Regions from separate parts of the Homo sapiens genome. Here region 2 is linked to region 1. The links are contacts of gene promoters, found by promoter capture Hi-C in human tissues and cell types (Jung and others, 2019). All regions are on one chromosome and are shown on one strand. Each heading gives the region's core, a stretch centred on a gene start or on the middle of the fragment in contact. The rest is flanking DNA. Distances are from core to core; before and after follow the strand shown.

Region 1 (4,770 bases), core at 1,749-4,248:
ATCAGCAGGACATGGGCGGGACCAACTAAGGGAATAAAAGCTGGCCACCTGCGCCAGCAGCAGCAACTGGCTCCTGTCCCCCTGCGCCAGCAGCAGCAACTGGCTCCTGTCCCCCTCCACGCTTTGGGAGATTTGTTCTTTCACTCTTCATAATAAATCTTGCTGCTGCTCACTTTGGGTCTGCACCACCTTTAAGAGCTGTAACACTCACTGCAAGGGTCTGCAACTTCATTCCTGAAGTCAGCGAGACCACGAGCCCACCAGGAGGAACAAACAACTCTGGATGCACCACCTTTAAGAGCTGTAACACTCACCGCGAGGTCCCTGGCTTCATTCTTGAAGTCAGCGAGACCATGAACCCACCAGAAGGAATAAATTCTGGACACAGAGGGATAGGGTGTTGTTGCTTAAGGAATACAGTTTCTGTCTGGGGTGTTGAAAAATTTTAAAAAGAGAGAATAGTGATGGTTCCACAACATTGTAAAGATAATTAATGTCACTGAATTGTATGCTTAACATGGTTAAAATGGCAACATTTTAAATATATGTTTTACCCACGTTATTTTTAGAGACAGTGAACATAAACTAAAGGTAGATTATGAGGTGAGGGTGGGTAGGTGTGGCTCATCAGAGGGGGAGGAAGAGAAAAGTCACTTATTTAGGCTGTCTTCTTAGCCAAAACTACAAAACATTTTAAACATCACCATGCAACACTGCTAGGAATTGAATTGTTGCCCCCCTTCCCCCAACTTCATATATGGAAGCCCTAACTCCCAATGTGACTACAGGTGCTTAAAGAGGTAATTAAGGTTAAATGAGGTTATAAGGATGAGGACCCAATCTGATAGGATTAGTGTCTTTCTTCTTATAAGAAGAGACACCAGTGAGCTTGCTCCCCGCTCTCCCCATATAATCCCACCAGGTGAGGACAAAAGAGAAGGTGGCTGTCAGCAAGCCAGGAAGAGCGCCCAGAGCCCTCACCAGAAGCTGACCTTGCCAGACCTTGATCAGGGACTTTTAGCCTTTAGACTGAAAAAATATATTTCTATTGTTTAAGTCCCATAGTCTATGGTATTTTGTTTTGGCAATCCCAATAGACAAATACAAACATGGAGGTATTTGCAACAGAAATTTCTCTATCAACTGTTCTCTCACAGAAAGTAACTTCCTCTGCTGATTGAAATCCTACCCATCCTTCAAACTCAAACTCAAATGCCATCTCTTCCAGGAGGCTTTCCCTGATTGCTCAGCTAAAACTAATTTTTGTGTCCTTAGGCTTCAGGGTATTTTGCCTGGAAGACTCTTAGTTTGGGTCATAGGATGGGAGTTCATCAATGGTCATTCCTGGGCTCTCATCTCATTCTATATGTTCTCTCCAAGTCAATGACTCACATCTTTCTATCTCCATTTCAGACTTTTTCTCTGAACTCCAGAACAACAGAGCTGATTCAGCACCTCTGTCTAGGTAGCCGAAAGCACATGAAGCTTAATTCAGATGCTCCTTGACTTATGATGGGGCTAGGTCCCAATGAGCCCACTGTAAGTGGAAAGTGGGCTTAATACCTGGATAAGCCCATCATAAAGTGGAAAAATCGTTAAGTGGAACCATTGTAGGTTCAGATGTGCCTCAACTTAGGATAGGGTTACCTCCCAATAAACCCATGCTAAAGTCAAGAAGTCTAAGTTGGGGACTATCTGTATGACCAAAATAGACTGTTCCTTTGGAACGATTCCACATATTCCTCCAAATTTTGGTCCATCTTTGGTGTCTTTGATTTTAGTGGACAGTACATCCATCCATCAGCACTGTTTCAAGTCAGACACTGATTAGATCCGGATAACATTCTTTTTACCCTTACCTCCCACCTCCATCCTCTCAGGAAGTACCATTGCTTTCACTTTGATCCATGGTCTCCTTTATGGTCCAAGCTACTCTCATCTCAGCCCTGGACCACCCCAACAGACTTGTCTTCCTTGTTTCCACTCTTGCCCCCTCTAATCTGTTCTCCTCAGAGCAGCAACAGCTTCATCCCCTGCCTAAAACTTATCTGCGGCACTGCAGGATCTGGCCTGATTACCTCTCCAGCCTCATCCCCCATCAGTTTAACAAATATTAATACATCATTTATTGAATGCCTCCAGCCATTGCCTATATTATTAGTCCCTCTGCCTGGAAGGCATTCCTCTCTTTACCTGGTTAGTTTCTACTCATTCTTTAAAGGTCTACTTAAATGTGGGCTCATTTAAGGCTCCACTTAAATGAGCCTTTCCAGACCTCTCCCTCTCCCCTCCCATTATGGCTAGTCACAGGTCCCACTGTGGTTAGCTCCCATGGCACCACCTAGCCTCAGTCAGAGCTTAGGCACAGCTGTCATTTAGCAGTTAACAAGGAGATTACTTCAAGGACATTCATCACTGTTTAACAGTGTGTCCTCAGTCCCTGGAAGGGTGTCCAACACACACTGCGTGCTTAATAAAAGTCTGCTGCATGAACGATTAAGAGATGGAATACCAGCAACGCTACTTCCCAGCCATTTGAGTTGTGAAAGTCACTTAATATTCTTGATCCTCAGTTTCCCAATTCTTAAAGCAGGGTTATGTAATTTTTTCTATGGAGGTAATTTCTGTAATTTGCTGGGCACTGGGTGGGCCCACAGCTCACTCTTGGATAGAAGAGCCTTCCCACTCTTTTAGCCCAGCCCTGGAAGCCATAGGTTGCAACATCATCCTGGGGAAGACTTCCTGGAGAGGTGGCGCTTCGTGGGGGTCTGAGGAAGGCCTAGGCACAGGGCACCACCTGCACGGATGCTCAGAGGCTGGGGCCCTCAGGGGCGCACGCGGCGAGGAGGCCCACCTTGCAGGCCCTGCAGGCGGAAGGTGTGGTGCTCCACCGGTAGGCCTGCCGCGCTGTAGGGCCCATAGCGCAGGATGACCACTGCGTTCTTGGGCATCGCCAGGCCTCCGCCGCCGCAGAGGCAAGGGAGAAACACACGCTGCTAAGCAACCTCTCTTCCGGCCCGGGCGCGTGGGCGTCGCTACGCGCCGGGCGGGGCCGGGGTGGCGCTAGGGGATCCTCCCGGCCCCAAGCTGCTCACGTGACCCTCAGCGCCTGGTCCGCAAATACGCGCGTTTGAGCTGGTGTGGCAAGTGTTAGTGATAAATAACAGCAGCAGCCAGGCACAGTAAGTTCGTGTCAGGCGGCGTGCGAAGCATTTTCCCTGCGTTATCTGGTTGAATCAGTTTACCATCCCTAGGAAGTATTTTATGTTTTTTGTTTACAAAACCGAGGCTCTGGGAGGGCAAGTTGCGGTCCCAAGAGTGACAGGGGTGTAGTATGGATTGGAAACCCTTGCATTTCTTCTATTTTCTTGCCTCTTTTTGATTGATTGGGAGTATTCGTTCATCATTCTTCTTCCCCCACCTTCTTCCCCCGGCCCCTTCTGTCACCAGTTAGGCTATTTGGTGGAGCCAAAACTGAATTCGTCCAATTCCCTTTTATTTGCTCAGTTCTGCTCATTGGAATTTGGACATAAAAGACATCCACCACTTCTAGGCATGGCTCCTAAAAAGTCTCCTCCACACCTGCTGTCTCCCTCTTCTTATCGGTAGCCAGATACGGGATCCCAGGGAGGACCCGAGGCTCCCGGGGAGACAGACCCAAAACGTGGGAGGAACCTGGACCACTGAGTAGCTGCGCCGAATAGAGCCCCACCCATCTGCATTAGTTGGTGACCGAAGCCAGAAGGAAACATTTATTCCATAACCACTGAGATTTTGGGGGTTGTTTATTACAGAAATTAGCCCAACCTAACAATCGCAATACCCTTGCGATTACAGCATTTCTTTACTTTCTAAATATTCAATTGTAGTTGATATTTTTACCCTCCTTTTGAACAGTAAAGGATTTTAAAAACCCTTTCCCACTAATTCTCCCAACGTATGCTACTGTGTATTTTAATTCTCTCCACGTGTACAGTATGTTCTATGATACATATTTCTTTGATGAGAATTAGTTTATACACGATTGTTAAATAGAGGAATGATATCAGCAGAATTTTGACATTATTATGGGTCATACATAATTTCCCCCAGCACTTGAGTTTCGCACCATCGGACAAGAACCACTGAATTCACCAACACAGCTGAACCCAGCAGACTATGGAGGAAGGCAGGACTGTACATGATGTCATTATTCATCCTCTTGGCTCTATGTGGTTACCTGTCTTGTCTTAGAAGGACTTATTTTCTGGTTCTCTATAAACTTTGTACACGTCTTTAAAGGCAAAAATCCTCTACTCACTGTAGTGTTTTTATTAATTAGAAATTTAACGTTGTTTTAACTTTGCTAAAAGTTTTGTATGAATAGTTGTTTTCCGTTACTCTTCTGTTTTCAAGACCGCTTATGTTTCTTTATCTCTTGCTTTCTGTAGTTTTACTGTAACAGTAAAGGATTTAAAAAACCCTTTCCCACTAATTCTCTCAACGTATGCTACTGTATATTTTACCTCTCTTGGGATTTGTTGAGATTCTTGAAACTGAATTAAAGTCCTTCATCAGTTTTTGGAAAAGTTTGAGTCATTATTTCTTCACATATTGCTTTTGTTCCATTTTCTCATTCTCAGGGACTCCAGCTAGGTATATGTTAGACCTTCTCATTGTAATCTGCATGTGTCTTCTCTGTGCTTTTCTCTTTTTTCTTCTTCCATACTTCTTTTGGGGTTGTATGTATACACGTTTGTATGCATGCATTCATTCATTTTTACCTGTAAT
Region 2 (4,647 bases), core at 1,402-3,901, 37 kb after region 1:
CGTGTTCCCATTTCTTCCAAACAGGAGTCTATTGTGCTGACGATGTTCTCTCCACTGCTCAGTACTGGGTGTGGGGGTACACAGCCTGCCTCTTGGTTTAAAGTTCACCAAAAGTTAAAAAGTCCACCCAAAGTTTAACATTTTGGTTTAAAATTCCAAGGAGTCACTTCAAGACCCAATGGTGAGGGCTGCGTATCACCAGGAGAGCCTGACCTTGGGGGCTGGATGCTGGGACAGGATGAGGCACCCAGGGCAGGGGTGAGAGTGCTCTGTGTGTGGGAAGATGGGTGCATGGCATTTGCAGGGAAAGGTTCATTACATGGTAGAGACTCCTAGTTGCACACCACATGTCCTTTCTTTCCTTGCTTGTAGAACCCCTGGTTTTTAGCTTGGTACATGGATAACAAACTAGAGCTATACTTCCCAGCCTCCCTTACAGCTAGGGGTAACCAGGTGTCTAAATTCTATGAGCAAGATCTCAAAAAACTACACCACAGCTTCCGGGGAACCTCCTCAAAGATAACTAGCATGTGCTCTTTGTCCTGCTTCCCACCTTCCTCCATCCTGCTGCCTGGATCACAGATATAATGGTGGGAGCTCTCGCCTGCGTTTTGCCTTCCTTGGGCATGTGGACAGCTCCCCTTCCCAGGGTGGTTAGTAAATCTTTAAGACCATCCCCTAGGTCTTCTCAATGCCTGCTGTGTACACAGATGCTAACTGCACTGGTCTTCGCTCTGCCCAGGTGAATTCTCCAGGTTCACAAGGAGTGTCCACAGATGCCCTTGCCTGAAAGGAGTCTCCAGTCCCCATGCATCCCCTTTCCCTCACTTTTTGCAAATCCTGGGGAAGGAGATGTCTCCCACAGCAGACCTTCTACTCTGGGAAGCCAGCCTAGCCTTGGGACATCCTCTCTTCCCTCCTGTTGAGGATGAGGCTTTGGGAGCCCTGTGCTTTCAGAACCCCTCCTCGTCCCTATGAGGGCAGGATGCCTCCTCACTCTCTGCATGGCCTCTTGGGCTTCCCTGCCTCAGTCTGATCAGCATCAAGGATCCGGCCATGCCCTGAGGATCTAAGCATAAATGAGAGCCAGCCCAGGCCCTGGGGAAACTCCCCTTCCTGTAAGCTCCTTAAGGAGGTGCAGTCACCACATTACCCTCTTAGAACTTGAAACAGCTTCTACCGCCCACAAGGGAGAATCCAAATTTCTAAACATGGCACCGTGGGCTCCATGGCCACCTCCTTCCCACCCTAGATCCCTGCGTGGACCTCACAGACAACCTCCTGCCCCTCCCTGATCCTGTGGACATCCCATCTCCTCATCATCACGCAGGCTGTGCCCAGGACAAGGCCCTTCTCCTCCTCTGTCTATGACAGCCCTCCCTGAGCTCCCTCATCCTCTGGCAGTACCAGCCCTGCCCTGGAGGACTCCTAACACCCTGAGCACGTGGCCTCCACAGCTTGCTCAGTGCAGATGTGGAATTGCACTCTTGTCAGGCCAGCCTCACACAGCACCTGAGCCCAGAGGTGCCCCCCAATCCCTGACCACCAGCCCCTGCTGCACAGCACATGACCCCAATGCCATTCCCAGACCACCGTGCTTTGGACAGTCAGCACTTGCAGCCCCTGGACCCCTGGTCTGGTCCCCTCCCCCATATCAGCACTCACTGAGGGTGGGGCCTGGGCCTCCTGAACAAGGCAAGCACAGTCCATGCTGGGTAATGGACTTTAGTGTGCTTCCCTTGGCCTGGGCAAAGTAGGGCTGGGATCTGTGGACCCAGTTCAGACAGGGGGCCTGGAGGTGTCCAGCTGGCTAATGGGAAGGGGAAAGGCCATGTCCTTATGAAGGGCAAAACCCAACTACTTTTGAGGCTTTGAGCTTCATGAATTGATGGGGGAGTGGGGGTAGGGTGAGGCTGGGACAAGGTAGGGCTTCTTCCCCCTTGCAAGGCTCCCTGCTCTGCCCTTCTCCCCTCCTTAGGCATCCCTGCAGATGGCCATAGTGCTCGCCCTGCACTATGTGCTGTGCTACTGGTCCCTGCAGGCTCAGGCTAGCCAGTGCCTTCAGAGCCCCGGGGAGGCCTTGGCCAGGTCTGGGTCAGGTTCAGATCAGCAAAGAAGAAGGGAGAGGCATGCCAGGAGGTGTATAGTAGTGCAGGGTGGTGGATGGAGGGTGGGACAGTGGTTTGGATGGCCGGAGAACAGATCCCCAGGCTTGTAAGCAGAGCTTGTGAGTGATCGGCTTGACCTCCAGCTTATGGGTGAGGGCATGCAGGATTTAGGTGGGGCTGGAAGAACATAATGATGTGATGCTATTAGCTAACCTTTGTTGAGCACCTACTATGTGCCAAATATCAATCTAAACATGCATATTGATGCATATAAGATAGGTATCATTGTCATGCCTCATTTACAGGTCAGGACCAGAGAAACCAAATATCTTGACCTTAGGCCATTTACAAGGTTTCTCTTGTAAACACGGATGATAATAATCATCCACTAAGTGGAGGGAGCTGGGTTTGATCTCAGGCATCCAACCCCAGTGCTCAGGTTCATCAACAAGGGCTATGAATGCCCAGCTCAGTCATGTGACTTCAGCCAGCAACAACAGGGAGTGCTGAAGGATCATGGAAGAGCTCAGTGTGGTCAGAGCAGAGTCTAGGATACCTGGCAGCTTGGGAAAGGCATGGGCCTGAAGGCCAGCCAAGCCGGGGCCATAGGCAGCTTGAATGCTGTACACCTCATTCCTGTTGGCCATACCTCAGGGTGAACTCTGAGAGCCCTGGCTTAGTAGCTGCCTTCACTAAGCGATCCTTAAAAACAGCCCCAAAGCCAGTGTGGAGTGGGCAGACTGCAGCTCCTGAGGCAGCCCACAGCATGCCTGCTCAGTCAGGAGGCTGAGAGCAGGCCTTGATGCAGGCTCGAGGCAGGAGAGTGGAGGCCTGGCACACTCCTTTTTAACTGGGCAATGCAAGGCTGGCAGCAGGAAAGAATGGCTCCCTGGGCATCACTGCCCTTGTCACCTCCAGGCAGGGGAGGCAGATTGTGAGGAGGCACTGAGGCCTTGCCATCATGTGCAGGCTCTGCAGGGCCCAGGAGCCCAGCGCTGCCCAACAGGAACCAGGTCCTGGCTCATTAGACAGGGTAAAATGGGAGCAGGACAACAGAGCGGGGAGCCAGGTGGCCTTGCAAATGAACTCCCTGCATATAAGTAGCTGATCAGTCAAATGCTGACAAGTTTATCATGTAAGGCAGAAAATGAGCACTACACCCAAGCTCATCCACCATGACTGTGGCCCAAATGTAATGGAAACATGGGACAACGGGCTGAAGGCGCACGGCAGGAGCCATTTGTCTTGTGGCATCCTCATCGAGCACATCGAGGCTCCTTTAAAGTGGCGAATCAATCTTCCTCAAGGAGCCCGGCGTAATAGTGAGAGGTGGGGATTGAGTAATAGGAGGAGCCTGCTCTGACACCCATGCCCAAGGAGGGAGCTGACAGCTTTGGTAGTGTGGAAATTCCAGAGGCCAGGAGGCCTCGGGGAGCCCTGAGGCTGGCATTAGAGGTTGGAAGCTTACAGGCTGAGACTCTGATGAGCACAGACAAAATAGCACCTGGTATCTCTCTCTGTGCAGGGCTGCAAGACTCAGGAGATGTTCTTTAATGTGCACTACTGTGCACAAGTACCCCCGGACATATACCACCCTCTTTGGGACACTTGCCTTTGCTTGCTCTGATCTATTCCCTGAGAAGTTAGCACAAGTCAGATTTCTATGCCATGCCCATCCCCCTTCTCACAGTCCAGGAGATGGATGAACTGGGATCTTTCTCAGGGGCTTAGACCTTCTTAACCTTTCCCAATCCTATCTCAGCATCTTTCCTCCCCTGATGAAGGAGTACTTTTTTCTTTTGGGAGGTAAATCTGCCATCGCACATCTCATATTCTTCCCGACTCTCTGGCCTAGGGGGTGATCTTTATGCTGTCAGTCCTCAGAGACTATGAGAATTCAAACAAAAGTATTTCTCACTCTTGCAAAACAGAACTGCTTTGACTTGAGTTACATCAGGCACCTTTAAAGAGCTCTGGATAGAGGGTCTTCCGATTCCAGGAACATATACTTTTCCCCATTCCTCCCGCTAAAAACTTGGACATTTTATTCAAAACAAAAGTAAGAAGACTCTGAAAGATGGCGAGAGGAAGGCAGACCAGCCAGGGACCTCAGGACCCAAGGAACATCATAGCAGCAGATTCTCTGGGTATTACGGACTGAATTGTGTCCCCTGAAAAGTCATACGTTGAAGCTTCAGCTCTCAGTGTGACTCTATTTGGAGGGAGGGCCTTTACAGAGATAAAGTTAAATAAGGTCTTAATCCAATAGAACTGGTGTCCTCATAAGAAGAGGAGATACCAAGCATGTGTGCACAGAGAGAAGGCCATGTGAGGACACAGTGAGAAGGTGGCTTGTAGTTGCCTACCCTGTGACACCTTCATCTTGGACTTCCAGCCTCCAAAACTGTGAGAAATAAATGTCTGTTGTTTAAGCCTCCACTCTGTGGTATTGTTATGCCAGCTCTACAGACTAATACACTGTGGGGTTGTTTTGGTTTGTTTTTTACCTGAAATATCCAATTTGCATTGAAGAACCCAG

Evidence for each region. Contacts are between HindIII fragments. The study calls those that stand out against the background at their distance.
Region 2: a fragment that was not itself captured here is called in contact with the fragment with the promoter of C10orf53 in region 1 in 2 of the 25 tissues and cell types used here (small bowel and stomach).

What each region holds. Positions count from the first base shown.
Region 1 is chr10:49,677,879-49,682,648 of GRCh38, reverse strand. C10orf53 (chromosome 10 open reading frame 53) reads right to left here and starts at 2,998. Exons shown (of 3, transcript NM_001042427.3): 1 at 2,855-2,998. The coding sequence starts at 2,951. The HindIII fragment of the contact is 11,001 bases long and covers 1-4,770 here.
Region 2 is chr10:49,640,894-49,645,540 of GRCh38, reverse strand. All of the region lies in intron 7 of CHAT (choline O-acetyltransferase), which reads right to left. Among named protein-coding and RNA genes, the nearest start is that of CHAT, 29 kb to the right of the region's middle. The HindIII fragment of the contact is 6,718 bases long and covers 1-4,647 here.